Regions from separate parts of the Homo sapiens genome. Here all the other regions are linked to region 3. Evidence: promoter capture Hi-C in 16 types of primary human blood cells and fetal thymus (Javierre and others, 2016). All regions are on one chromosome and are shown on one strand. Each heading gives the region's core, a stretch centred on a gene start or on the middle of the fragment in contact. The rest is flanking DNA. Distances are from core to core; before and after follow the strand shown. Region 1 has its middle 45 kb from the start of PTENP1-AS. Region 2 overlaps DNAJA1 (DnaJ heat shock protein family (Hsp40) member A1). Region 3 holds the start of NFX1 (nuclear transcription factor, X-box binding 1). Region 4 overlaps APTX (aprataxin). Region 5 has its middle 3.2 kb from the start of APTX.

Region 1 (2,700 bases), core at 200-2,699, 430 kb before region 3:
GCAGTCAATCCCCACGCCTATCCTGTGCGGACAACGATTCTGATTTCTACCACCATCAATTAGATTTTCATATTCTAGAACTTCATGCAAATACAGTATATTTTTTGGCCTGACTATTTTTGCCTCAGATTTGAGAGTCCCTCCTATGATGTTTATCTGGTTGTTTGTCTTTTTCATTGCCCAGTAATATTTCATTGTATGGATGTAGTATCGTTGATTCTCCTGTTAATTGGCATTTGGGTTGTTCAAAGTTTTGGGCTTTTCTGAATAATCTTGAAAGTACTTGAGAGGCTGTAAAAAAGAGGTTCTGATATTCCTGGCAAAACTTTCTGCTGGGAAGAGGAATAGATCCTGAAGCTTCAGATTTTACTGGCGATAATGAAAGAGCATCTTTGAAAGTGTGTAGCATGCGGCAGACATTCAATAAATGTTAGTGGAGTCTCACTTTGGCAGAATTCTGTTTCTAGGATCTGTGCCCAGAAATAGATCGTCTTTTACAGAAAGGTCAGAATCAACCATTCTAGAGAAAATTTAAAAATACCTCAGAGAGATTCTGTCTTCTCATTTGATAAATCCATTTCAGGAATATTTCACAATTCTAACAATTAGAAAAAAATGGCTATGTGATATTTTTATGTTATACTTTAAAGTCTACCTATTATATATATTATCTTACTTCATACACATTTAATTTTCATTTTATGCACATTGTTTTATTTAACTTTTGCTACAATGCTGCAAGGTAAATGTACTTCTACTTTACAGATAAGGACAAATGAGGCTTGGAAATGCTAAGTAACTTTCCTAGCTCACAAAGCTAGTAAGAATTTGATCGCAGTTGCCTGACTCCAAAATGCATGCGTTTTCCTCTGCAATGTGCGGCCCCACCATGTTCACACCTCACTACAGACAGGAAGCACATATTATTCAGATAATCGCTACCCATTTTCCATTCATCCTCGTTTTTCCAGTGAGCAAAACATCTTGTACAGTCACTTTCTTTTTTCATTTCAGAAGTACACTTTGAATAGGCTCAATATGGCCTGATTTAAGCAAGCAGAAGGAAAAATCCTTACAAAGTCTGTGTGGGCCAATCAGCAATGAGATGGAGCATTCGGCAGATGGCGCTGTTTCCACACGAGTGTAACGGCGGCCACAAGCGTTCTGCCGCCAGGGGGCGCCGCGTTCCGCCGGAGAAGCGTGGCTACCAGATTCGCGGCCCAGCACGGGCTGCAGGGCCCACGCCTCCTTGGCGGTGCGTTCTTTCCCTCCAGGTGGGACGCTGCAGGCCCAGCAGCTCCCTGTGCCTCCAGATAGCCAGGGCTCTCACGTGGATAGGCTGCTGGACCAAGCTCAGTCCAGCAGGCCGGCTTCAACAGCTTCTGCTCAGCTATCCCGGACAGCACAGGACTGTGCAGAGCCTCCCCTAAACCTCATTCTTTTCAAGGGCAAAGGGAAGCACAGCAGCGTTTGCCTTTTCTTGCCAAGTTAGCACGGAGGAAGTTTCATCAGGGAGAGGCAGGGGCCTCAGAACAGGGAGGCCGCAGGGCGGCCTCGGCAGGTGAGTGCTGGCAGCCCGTGGCCTGAGACGTTAAGCACTGTGGGGAGAAATGGAGAAAGAAGCTCCTTGAACATTAGGCCCACTCCGGTGTGTGAAGCAACTGGCCCTTGAGATGAGAGCAGCCTGGTCTTCCCTTCTTGGTGAGGCTTGGGCCTTTTACATATTCCCACACAATGGAAATACGCAACCACTTCCAACTGGGTCCCAAATTCTCAAATGTCTCGACTACAGGACTCTAGGGACACAGCCTCCTCCTTAAGGATTTGTGAGATGTCTGTAAAGAAAAGGAAAATTTGTGAACCTTCTCAGAAGAAGCCACAAAAGAATACTTAGAGGCAAAAAATTACTCAGGCTGACATTTGAGAGGCTCTGGTTCACTGGTTCAGGCCCCCTTCCCAGGCTGACAAGGGTTGAGAGGCTCTGGAAGGACAGAGTCCACGGGAGCTGTGCTCTTCTGCGAATTCCGTCCAGCCATATTCCTCCACACCTGCAAAGTGGTGGAGAATGTTCTCTGCTTCACTCCACCCCAACTTGGGCATTGGAACAATGACTTCCTCATTGGGTTTTGGTAGTTTTTCCATTATGTTTTAATTTTGCCCTTTATATGAAGTGCTATATTTTGTTTTAGAATAGGCATTACATTGGCTCAAAAATCAATTCACACAGAAAGGTATACAGTGAAGTCTTACTTCCACCCCAGTTACAATCTCCTCCACATATGTGCACAGCTAATTCATTTTACTAGTATCTAGGGTACCCTTTACCAGAGTTTCTTTAAGATACTGCAAGATAGCTTAATCGCATTGCAATCTTGCATACCAAATTATATGCAAATTATGCATATAATTATGCAGACCAAAGTCTGACAGGTGCAGACCCTTGCGTATTCTCACTGAGTGTCTCCTGGGCTGCTCCTGCTGACAACCCCCTCTCCTCTCTCTATGTGATCTAGATCCATTTGAGAATCCTATGAAAGCTTTGGACCTTTCCTGAGGAAAATGCACCTAGGCACACACCTATACACATTGGCATTCAATTTTGGTGGGGGTTATGGGCTCTGTGAAGCCCATCTGTACCCTTGGTGATCACACCCCCCTTCTAAACTGTTATCTATTTAGAGCTCTGGGCAGGCACTTGGC
Region 2 (2,700 bases), core at 157-2,656, 260 kb after region 3:
TTGCTGAACCATTCCAGGTCCTATCTGATGAATTCTTATTTGCATTCCAGTACCTCGGCAATTGGGACAGCACTCTACTGCTCCTTTCTTACCTCCTCTACCTAAATTTAAAAAGAAAATTAAATAATGTATGAATTAGTAGTGTATACAGTAGTAAATGTTTTAAGAAGACAATTCCTAAATGCTATACTTTTAATATTTTCGAAGCCTGATGGAATGCTACCCTCTGAATGTACAACTGATGAGATCATTCCAATGAGTTTCATTCTTATTAGAACACACTTTCCAATAAATTTTACTTATTACAAAAAAGATACCAAACTAGCTTGATCCCAACTGTATTTAAAATATACACAGAAAAAAGTGCTGATATTTCTTTAGGTGGGAGGTTTTCAGTTGGTTTTCTTCATATCTGCCCTCTCCTCCCCCAAAATCTAGGTAGTGTACATGAATCAATTTTACATATCTATCTAGAAGTCTTAGCTCCATTTTCAGGTGTCATATTAAAGGTGCTTAAAAACAAAACAAAACAAAACAAAAAAACACCGTACCTTCACATTTGTCACAAATCACATTCTTTTGCAGAGCCAGTTTTCTTGTTGCACCATTATATAAGTCTTCTAGGGTTACTGAGAGCTGATGTACAACATTTTTACCTAAAACAAAATATTTCTCATTGCAAATCTGTTTAAGATGCTGGATCTTATTTGTGCTAAAGGCACTATAAAGAATGTGGCAAAGAATAATAAAAGATGAGCCTCACAGGGTACATCTGTTGACTACCTACTATATACACAGAATGTTCACGTTATCACAGATGATCCTCAAACTGTGATGTAATCACAGATGAGGGAAAATCAGGTCAGAGATTAAATATTTGCTTAAGGGCACAGACGTGGCCATCTTGGAAATATGGTAAGCAAAAGCATTACCTTCAAAGTCACTTGAGAAAAACCAATGTTATTTAAAAGGGCACATTTCACAATAATCCAAACATTCATTTCTGTCACAATATATTTTTTGAAGCTTTCACTTCGTACCGTATTGAGCAACATGGCCAATTACTTCATCCAAAAATTCTGTAGCACAGTAAATTCTCATTAATCAAGATTGGCCAGGGAAGCTGATGTATTTATTGAGTCACCACAGAAGAGTATCAATTTCTACTTCTTCCTGATTTAGTAGAAAACAGCCCATTTACTGCTGGGCCAGCACTGGTTGTTTTGAAGGCCAAATTTCTCATACCTTTTATAATAGCATTGCCCAACAGAACTTTCTGCAGTGATAAATGTTTTATATCTGTTCTGTCCAACGTAGCAGCCACCAATCACATGTGCTTATTGAGCATGTAAATGTGGCCATTTAGACTAAGAAACCGTATTTTTGTTTTTGTCTTAAATTAATGGAGCCACACATGGCCAGTGGCTACTAAGGAGTGCCTTACTTCACTTAAATCAGAATAGGAAATGGAAGGTCAAGATCTCATAAGGACACTGAGGTTAGAAGTATGAAGTCACCTGCTAGTAAGTTAGTAAGTTCCTAACTAGTGGTCCTTCCACAAGGACTTATTCACAACAATATTATTGCCTTTCCACCAACTGAAAAAAGTTCTCAAACTCGTTTCTGTACAATATGCCTAATGAACATTTTAACTTTCTAATCAAGCATGAAATACCATTAATTATGTCCTTCTGCTTATAGTTCCACCTTTAGTTTTGGCACGCTAAAATCTAGCTGCCCTTATTTTGAACAGTGTTGAGTATAAGGAAGGAAAAATAAAGCTTCTAGAGCTTGATGAAGCGCATTTCCCCAGAAATAACCTCTCAATATGATCATAAGCCACATAAAAGAGCTTGCCAATGTTAACCTGCAGGTTCTTTGTAAGGTAAGTGAAAAACCACCACTACTTTTTTGTGGACAAATTCTAACAATTTACTAAGCAAGTCATTTGGATTGTGGACTTTCTTTTTAAGGAGTTTAAGTATCTTAATAAAAACATAATCCTTTCCTTGAAGATCTTTAAAGAAAAACTGAATAAACAATTTCCCAAATCTTTCTGAACCTTAAGAAGCTCAAAGTGAAATTTAATGGCTTGGCCATTCATTCTAAAACTGGTTCTGCTCATCAGCCCTTATTTGTATACACTATACTGGAAATAAAGTGAGACTGATTTCTCTTGAACATTTTACTCCTATAAGCAGTATTTCTAGAGCCCATAGGCCACTTTCCTGATAAACATATTAAATACATAATTTTGACACAATAAAGCTGAAACAAGAATAGATAGATGGCAGGCAACGAACCAGTTTTCAGCCCTGGCTCTGTTGGCTTGCTATATGAGCTTGAAGAAGTTTTAGGTTTCTGAACTTTAACTTACTCCCATTTGAAAAAGGCCACTGTACCTACCATCAAATTCCTTTGGGGAGTGAGGGAACACCAAATAAGATCTGTAAAAAGGGCTTGGAAAATTATATTGCTATATACTTTGTCTTTTTTTTTTTTTTTTTTTTTTTTTGAGACAAGAGTCTCGCTGTGTTGCTCAGGCTGGAGTGTAATTGGGCGATCTCAGCTCACTGCAACCTCCACCTCCCGGGTTCAAGCGACTCTCCTGCTTCAGCCCTCCTGAGTAACTGGGATTACAGGCACGCACCACCATGCCTGGCTAATTTTTGGATTTTTTTGGGTTTTTTGTGACAGAGA
Region 3 (2,700 bases), core at 6-2,505:
CCACCATGCCCAGCTAATTTTTTGTATTTTTAGTAGAGACGGGGTTTCACCGTGTTAGCCAGGATGGTCTCGATCTCCTGACCTCGTGATCCGTCCACCTCGGCCTCCCAAAGTGCTAGGATTACAGGCGTGAGCCACCACGCCCGGCCCTAACTTTTTAAACTAAGAACCATAGTAATAAATACATTTTACCTGCCACCCAGTATACAAATACATATATGGTCTTCTTGGTGCCCCAACGGCTGGTCAGGGACAGAGCTGAGATTCAAACCAATGGTTTCCAAACTCCATTCTGCAAACTGCTGCCCTGTTTTCCAGAGTGGGCCATAAAATCAAATGAAGGCAGTGGGCTGTGACATATTTTTAAACGAAACAGAAAACAGAATATATTGCTGATTGTAAAACAAACCAACCAACCTCACTGCTTCCAGAAACTTCTGGTTCGCTTTTATATTTATGTAAGTGTACAATATTTAAGGTCGCGATGCAAAATGTTTCTTTTGGTTGCTGTCCAACACATTTGGAAAACACTGATCTATGGAACACCCTGAGGAAATGGATGTTATATCAACGAACAAATGAGGCTGTCTCTACACACTGAGGCAACTCCAGGAGGGGGAGTGAGTGAACAATTACAGAATAGGTACAGTACAGGGCGGGAGCCATCACAGGAATTAACTTATCTACTCCCAACTGACAGATGAGGAGACTGAGACTGAGTCACACGGGGTTCGCAGCAGGCTGAGACTCTAAACTACTGGAATTCGGCTCGCGCCCACGCCACCACTCCAGGCGGTATGAGCACACCACACCCTACACGTCAAGAGCCCGCCACCGTCACTGGCTGTGACCTGGCCGACGCCCGCCTGTCGAAGGTCAGTGCGCCGCTGCCCCAGAAACAGCCTGTGGGAAGGCAGGGCACCCACATCGACTCGCAGCGCCGGGACAAGTCCTCTCTCCTCCGAAACCCAGCTACTGGGCTTCACCATCTAGTCCAAGAAGACACAGATCTTCGTACGCACGATGCGCGGGGCTTGGCCCTTCCGAGCCACTATCCTACGCCCTAGCATGTGCTACTCTCGCGATATGAGTGGCTGAGGCCCTAGAACTTCGTCACTGACCCAATTTCCGCTCCCTGAAAGGGGCCCAGTCCCGCTCGGGCCGGGACAATACCTGAGACAGGAGGCGCCTCCGCCATCCCGTGCCGCAGAACCTAGATCGAGCTGTACAGCCAAGTCAGCACTGTCACCAGGTCACGTGCCCCGGACTTCCGGCGCCGCGAGAATATTCGCATCTGCGCGCCGTGTAGACGGCCACAGAGGTTGCGCAGCCCGAATCTGTGTGGCGCGTTCGTGACGTCAGATAGACGCGCCAGGTGTCGGGCGGGAGGAGGAGACTAGTAGCTGGATGGAAATAGCAACAATCGCAGGAGGGAGGGCGGCGACTTGCGTAATCATTGTGGTTTTCCTTTTTTTATTTTTTGATATAGGGTCTTGCTGCCTTACCCAGGCTTGAGTGCAGTGGTCTGATCATGGCTCACTATAGCTTCAGTCTCTAATCCTCCCGCCTCAGCCTTCCGGTAGCTGGAACTACAGGCGGAGCCACCATGCGCAGCTATTTTTAGTAGAGACGGGTTTCGCCATGTTGCCCAGGCTAGTCTCTCCAACTCCTGGCCTCAAGCGATCCTGCCGCTTTGGCCTCCTAAAGTGCTTGGCTTACAGGCGAGCCACCACGCCTGGCTCCAGACTTTTTTTTTTTTTTTTTTTTTTACAAAGGCGTTTATTCTCATCAGTATCACCGATATTCTCATGGTTCACATTTGCCAACGCCGCTCCTCTCCTTACAGTAGTTAAATGTGCAATCTCACTTGGGGGCCCAGGGAGGGGTGGGGGCTCGGCCCAGGGTGGGGAGGGCGTTGGCACTTCACGTGGACAGGGTGGGCAGCCTGTCCTGCGTGAAAGAGGTGTGGGTGAGTGGGCGGCCAGGGAAGGGGAGTTGGCAGGGGAGGGCCCCGCAGTCTTTTTTTCTTTGGTGGTTGGTGATTCTCCATTCAGATTCCTTCCTGGCTTCCCAGGGTAGGGGAACCATGCAGCTCAGGGCAGGGCAGGGGAGGAAGAGAAGGAAAAAGCAGCAGGCCGCCCGGGGGGAAAGGTGGAGGGTGAACGGCAGGGCAAGGGGGAACGGGTGGCTCCTGAGGTAAGGCACAACCCTGTCTTTGGCTTTCCTGGTGAGGAGTTTCCTCCCCTGCACCCCCTGCCCGACGCTTCTCCCCACCCCCCCACCCCCCAGACCCACACACAGTCCCAGGAGCCAGGGGGCACCACCTCCTGGGGTCCCTGAAACAAGTGGGCTCTGCCACCCAAGCCAGTGCCGCAGGGGCTCGAGGAGGGACACCCGAGGAAAAGGCAGAGAGGGGCAGGCAGGGGCCTACCCAGGACAAGGGGGTGGGGGTGAGAAGACCCTAGGCCCAGGAGCTGGGCCCCCCGCCCCAACTAAGTCCTGGAAGTGGGGGAGCACCTGCTTCCTTTCGGGGGTCTGGCTGGAGCCCCGGTCTGCCCCTTGGCCTCCGTCAGGCCCAGCCACTTGCCAAGTGACCAGGGCATTGTGCTTTGGGGTAAACGCTGGGGTGGGGTGGCAGGCCAGGAGGCAGGGGGAGAGGAGGGATGACTAAGGTGCTTGTGCTTTAGCTGGGGGTGTCGA
Region 4 (2,700 bases), core at 75-2,574, 310 kb after region 3:
CTATAATCCCAGCAACTCCAGAGGCTGGGCAGGAGCATCGCTTGAACCCGGGAGGCAGAGGTTGCAGTGAGCCGAGATCACGCCATTGTACTCCAGCCTGGGCAACAAGAGCGAAACCCCATCTCAAAAAAAAAAAGAAAGAATATAGGGTCGGGTGTGGTGGCTCACGCCTGTAATCCCAGCACTTGGGGAGGTGGAGGCCAGTGGATCACCTGAGGTGAGGAGTTCAAGACCAGCATGGCCAACCTGGTGAAACTCCGTCTCTACTAAAAAATACAAAAGTTAGCTGGGCGTGGTGGTGGGCACCTGTAATCCCAGCTACTTGGGAGGCTGAGGCAGGAGAATCACTTCGGAGGTTGCAGTGATCACGCCGCTGCACTCCAGCTTGGGTGAGACAGAGTGAGACTTTGTCTCAAAAAAAAAGAGAATATAGGAAGGCAATGGAGTGAAGCAGAGTCAAGTGAATCTTGTTTAATTCTCAAAAACTAAGCTTATTTCCAAGTTTAGTTGTGCTATCACACAGTATTAACTGTTGCCAAATTTAATTATTGGCATTTGTAATTTACATTGCTTGTTTTTTTTTTTTTTTGTTTTTTTTTTTGTTTTTTTTTTAGGAATCCCTGGGCCACTGGAGTCAAGGCTTGAAGATTTCTATGCAGGACCCCAAAATGCAGGTCAGAATACAATTTTGGAATTTCAGTACATTTCATGTTGTAAATGACCACTCCACAGAGGTCTTAATTACAAATGAAATCAAAGGATATCAGTCTTTCTGAATGAGATTCATTTTATTGGGCTGTTCTGTGAGAACAAGAGGCTTTTCACATTGGCAATAAAGTAGCAGCTGTCATTGTTTGGAGAGAAAGCTGAGTTCTTCAAATGAATATCCCCTCTGCCTTGTGCCTTTTAAACTTCTGGGTACTTTAAGGGAAGTTGCATTAACCTTAGTATGGTTCCTTTCAGGGGAGCATCAGAGATAATACACTGTGACAGTAGTACTGTGCTGCCCTGGCATTAACAGTCAGACATCCCTGTAATCCCAGCACTTTGGGAGGCCGAGACGGGAGGATCACCTGAGGTCAGGAGTTCGAGATCAGCCTGACCAACATGGAGAAACCCTGTCTCTACTAAAAATACAAAAAATTAGCTGGGCATGGTGGTGCATGCCTGTAATCTCAGCTACTCGAGAGGCTGAGGCAGGAGAATCACTTGAATCCGGGAGGTGGAGGTTGCGGTGAGCTGAGATTGCACCATTGTACTCCAGCCTGGGCAACAAGAGCGAAACTCCATCTCAAAAAAAAAAAAAAAAAAAAAAAAACAGGCATCATCCTTGAGGAGCCTTTGAGTCCCACTTCAATTATATTCCTTGTTGACAAGGGGCAGGTCTAATAGGGCTCACTGGAACCCACGTGTACGTGTCACACAGTCTGCCATGTTGGAGTGGAGAAGGATGCTTTTGAATTTATGTCTACAGAGATTTTACATCACATTCTTGGGAACTATTTTGTACTGTGCATCTTCTGTGTATTCTGTGTAGTGTGGTGGTTGAAAACAGACTCTGGAGTCAACCACATCTGAGTTGGAATCCTAGATTTCCCTCTTAGGAACTATGACTTGTGCAAGACACTCAACCTGTCTGAATTTCAGTGCTCTCCTCTCTCAAAACTGGGCTATTAAAACCATTTGCACAAGACTGTGGGAATTAAGTGACTTAGTGAATATAACAACCAGGCACACAGAAGATTCTTAGTAGATGTCTGTTTCCTTCTCTTGTATCCCTCTGCTAGGTTTACAAAGATGAGCAGGTGGTGGTGATAAAGGATAAATACCCAAAGGCCCGTTACCATTGGCTGGTCTTACCGTGGACCTCCATTTCCAGTCTGAAGGCTGTGGCCAGGGAACACCTTGAACTCCTTAAGCATATGCACACTGTGGGGGAAAAGGTGATTGTAGATTTTGCTGGGTCCAGCAAACTCCGCTTCCGATTGGGCTACCACGCCATTCCGAGTATGAGGTAAGCCAGGTGGGTAGTGCTGCTGGCTCCTGGTTCTGTCCAGGTGGGCAGATAGATTCAGCCTGGGCTTGCTGAGGGCACATATTGCACTGAGACCCAGGGAAGTGGGATGGAGTTTTTCCAAAGCAGGTGGGCTGAAGCTTCCACCTCTCTGCCTGACTTGCATGCAAGCTTTGAGTTCCCACTTCTGCCTATAATTCAGTCATATTTGGTTCTTTGTTCCTCTCAAAATATAAATCTTCGAGAGCCTAATATATGAACTAGATGAAGCAGCTTCATTATCCTCAGATAAAGAATTGTGGTCAGTGGCTTTTATCAGATTCTTCAAAAGCGTCTATAACCCCAGAATGATTAAGGACCATTACTCTGAAGGAAACAAACATCATAGACTTCTGTAATGACAGCGTAGTAGATCCAGGATTTGAAAATAAAATGAGAGAAAAGTATAGAATTTGTTTTCCTGTGGCTTATGCCCAGAAGGATTCAGAAAGGAATGACTGATTTCTTTCAAAGAATACAAGCAAGGTGGATCTCCGTGATTTCTTTGATTTAAGCAATAAGATGATAAGTCTAGATTTTAGAGTTTTTATTTTGTTTTTAAAAAACTGTGATATAATATACATAACAAAATTTACATTTTAGTCATCTTTAAGTGTACAATTCATTGGCATTACTATATTCATATT
Region 5 (2,882 bases), core at 352-2,851, 290 kb after region 3:
CTGGGCTGATCTTGAACTCCTGGCCTCAAGCAATCCTCCTGACTCATCTTCCCAAATGCTGGGATTACACACATGAGCCACTGAGCCCAGCCAGAATCCAGGTTTTCATGTGAGATCTCATTTCTAACTGTTGGAATTAAAACAAACAAACAAACAAACAAACAACAAAACCCTGAGCAGAGTAGCCAAAAACAATCTTGAAAAAAAAAAGAATAAAGTTCTTATACTTCCTGATTTCAAAAAGTATTACAAAGCTATAGTAATCAAAACAGTGCAGTACTAGTGTAAAGACAGACATACAGACTGATGGAATACAATAGAAATCCCAGAAGTAAATCCTTGCATAAATGATTAAATGATATTCAGTAAGTATGTCAATACCATTCAGTGAGGAAAGGGCAGTCTTTTCAACAAATGATATTGTTAAAATCTGGGTATCCACATGCAAAAAATTGAAGTTGGAGCCTTACCTTACATAGTACAGAAAATGAACTCAAGGCCAGGCACAGTGTCTCACACCTGTAATGTCAGCACTTTGGGAGGCTGAGGCAGGAGGATTGCTTGAGCCCAGGAGTTCAAGATCAGCCTGGGCAACATAGCAAGACCTCTGTCTCTATTAAAAAAAAAATTAGCCAGGCTTGGTGGGACATGCTTGTAGTCCCAGCTACTTGGGAGGCTGAGGTGGGAGGATTGTTTGAGTCTGGGTGGTCAAGGCTGCAGTAAGCTGTGATTGCATCACTGCACTCCAGCCTGGGCAACAGAGCAAGACTCTGTCTCACAAAAACAAAAACAAAAACAAAAAACAAAAAAATAAAACCACACCTCAAAAATGGATCAAAGACCTAAACATAAGACCTAAAACTATAAAACTCTTAGAAAACATAAGGGAAAAGTTTCATGACAGATTTGGCAATGTTTTCTTGGATATAACACCAAAAGACAGGCAGCAAAAGTAAAAATAGGTAAATTAAAGTACTTCACAATTAAGTTTTGTGCATCCAGGGATACAGCCAGCAAGCAGAGTGAAAAGCACCCTATGAAATGGGAATCTTATATTTGATCAGAGGTCAATATCCAGAATATATAAAGAACTCCTACAACAAAACAAAACAAAAATAACCCCATTAAAAAATGAAGTACTTGAATAGACATTTCTCCAAATACATACAAATAGACAGGAAGCTTATGAAAAGATCAACATCACTAATCATTAGGGAAATACAAAGCAAAACCACAATGAGATACCATTTCACACCCATTAGGATGGCTGCTATCAAAAAAAAGTAACAAGCGGCCGGGCGCAGTGGCTCACACCTGTAATCCCAGCACTTTGGGAGGCCGAGGTGGGTGGATCACAAGGTCAGGAGTTTGAGATCAGCCTGGCCAATATGGTGAAACCCCATCTCTTCTAAAAAAAAAAAAAATACAAAAATTACCCGGGTGTGGTGGCAGGCACCTGTAGTCCCAGCTACTCAGGAGGCTGAGGCAGGAGAATCGCCTTAAGCCGCGAGGTGGAGGTTGCAGGGAGCCGAGATTGCACCACTGCACTCCAGCCTGGGTGACAGAGCGAGACTCCATCTCAAAAAAAAAAAAAAAAAAAAGGGTTGGCAAGAATGTGGAGAAATTGGAACTCTTGTACACTATTGGTAGAAATGTAAAATCATCCAGCTGCTATGGAAAACAGTGTGACAGTTCCTCAAAATATTAAAAATGGAATTACCATATAATCCAGCAGTTTCACTTCTGTGTATATATTCAAAATAATTGAAAGAAGAATTTTTAAAAATTGTTTCACATTAAAAACAAATTTCAGTGGCTTTAGGGGTACAAATGGTTTTTGGTTTCATGGATGAAGTGTATAATGGTGAAGTCTGAAATTTTAGTGTACCTATCACCCGAGTAATAGTTACACCCAATATGTAGTTTTTTAAAATCTCTCATCTTCCTCCCACTCTCTCCACTTCTGAATCTCCAATGAACATTATACCACTCTGTATGCCTTTACATACCCAAAGCTTAGCTGCCAATTATAAGTGAGAACATGTGGTATTTGGTTTTCCATTCCTGAGTTACTTCACTTAGAAAAATGGCCTCCAGTTCCATTCAAGTTGCTTCAAAAGACATTATTTCATTCTTCTTTATGGCTGAGTAGTATTCTGTGGTGTATATGTACGACATTTTCTTTATGCATTCATCAGTTCATGGGCATTTAGGTTGGTTCCATGTTCTTGCAATTGCAAATTGTGAAAACAGGATCTCAAAGAGATATTTATACACTCATGTTCATAGCAGCATTATTCACAATAGCCAAATGGTGGAATATCCACGGGTGGATGAATGGATAAAGTATGGTGTGTACATGCAATGGAGTGTTATTCAGCTTTAAAAAGGAACTTTTTACACATGATACAATGTGGATGAAACTTGAGGACATTATATTAAGTGAAATAAGCCAGTCGCAAATGGGCAAATACTGTCTGATTTTACTTACATGAGGTACCTAGAGTGGTCAGACTCATGAAAACTGTAAGTAGAATGGTGGTTGCCAGGTGGGGGAGGGAAAATAGGGAGCTATTTAATCGATACGGAGTTTTTTTTTTGAGGCAGAGTCTTGCTCTATCGCCCAGGCTGGAGTGCAGTGGAGTGATCTTGGCTCACTGCAACCTCTACCTCCCGGGTTCAAGCAATTCTTCTGCTTCAGCCTCCCAAGTAGCTGGGACTACAGGCGAGTTCCGCCACGCCAGGCTGGTCTTGAACTCCTGACCTCAGGTAATCCACCTGCGTTGGCCTCCCAAAGTGCTGGGATTACAGGTGTGAGCCACCGTGCCTGGCCGAGTTTCAGTTTTTCAAGATGAAAAAGTTCTGGTGATTAGCATGGCAAT

What was found. The method cuts DNA at HindIII sites, captures the fragments that hold promoters and counts their contacts. A CHiCAGO score of 5 or more calls a contact.
Region 1: a fragment that was not itself captured here is called in contact with the fragment with the promoter of NFX1 in region 3 in 2 of 17 cell types (fetal thymus and erythroblasts); the score reaches 6.5 in fetal thymus.
Region 2: a fragment that was not itself captured here is called in contact with the fragment with the promoter of NFX1 in region 3 in 17 of 17 cell types (naive B cells, total B cells, monocytes and 14 more); the score reaches 23.1 in naive B cells.
Region 4: a contact is called between a fragment that was not itself captured here and the fragment with the promoter of NFX1 in region 3, in 1 of 17 cell types (monocytes). The highest score is 5.0, in monocytes.
Region 5: a contact is called between a fragment that was not itself captured here and the fragment with the promoter of NFX1 in region 3, in 3 of 17 cell types (monocytes, neutrophils and naive B cells). The highest score is 9.5, in monocytes.

The regions. Positions count from the first base shown.
Region 1 is chr9:33,720,726-33,723,425 of GRCh38, reverse strand. No RefSeq gene overlaps it. Among named protein-coding and RNA genes, the nearest start is that of PTENP1-AS, 45 kb to the right of the region's middle. RefSeq lists enhancers at 916-1,415, 1,416-1,917. The HindIII fragment of the contact is 2,180 bases long and covers 360-2,539 here.
Region 2 is chr9:33,027,841-33,030,540 of GRCh38, reverse strand. DNAJA1 (DnaJ heat shock protein family (Hsp40) member A1) reads right to left here. Exons shown (of 9, transcript NM_001539.4): 4 at 552-656; 5 at 1-101. Among named protein-coding and RNA genes, the nearest start is that of DNAJA1, 3.9 kb to the right of the region's middle. The HindIII fragment of the contact is 755 bases long and covers 1,029-1,783 here.
Region 3 is chr9:33,289,071-33,291,770 of GRCh38, reverse strand. NFX1 (nuclear transcription factor, X-box binding 1) reads right to left here and starts at 1,255. Exons shown (of 24, transcript NM_002504.6): 1 at 1,174-1,255. The coding sequence starts at 1,198. It also overlaps the pseudogene LOC100862682. RefSeq lists enhancers at 980-1,029, 11-1,210, 1,180-1,229, 1,240-1,659, 2,365-2,700. The HindIII fragment of the contact is 6,050 bases long and covers 1-2,700 here.
Region 4 is chr9:32,983,945-32,986,644 of GRCh38, reverse strand. It overlaps APTX (aprataxin), which reads left to right. Exons shown (of 8, transcript NM_001195248.2): 5 at 615-674; 6 at 1,788-2,014. Among named protein-coding and RNA genes, the nearest start is that of APTX, 16 kb to the left of the region's middle. The HindIII fragment of the contact is 1,664 bases long and covers 493-2,156 here.
Region 5 is chr9:33,003,350-33,006,231 of GRCh38, reverse strand. It overlaps a transcript of APTX not described here. Among named protein-coding and RNA genes, the nearest start is that of APTX, 3.2 kb to the right of the region's middle. The HindIII fragment of the contact is 833 bases long and covers 1,185-2,017 here.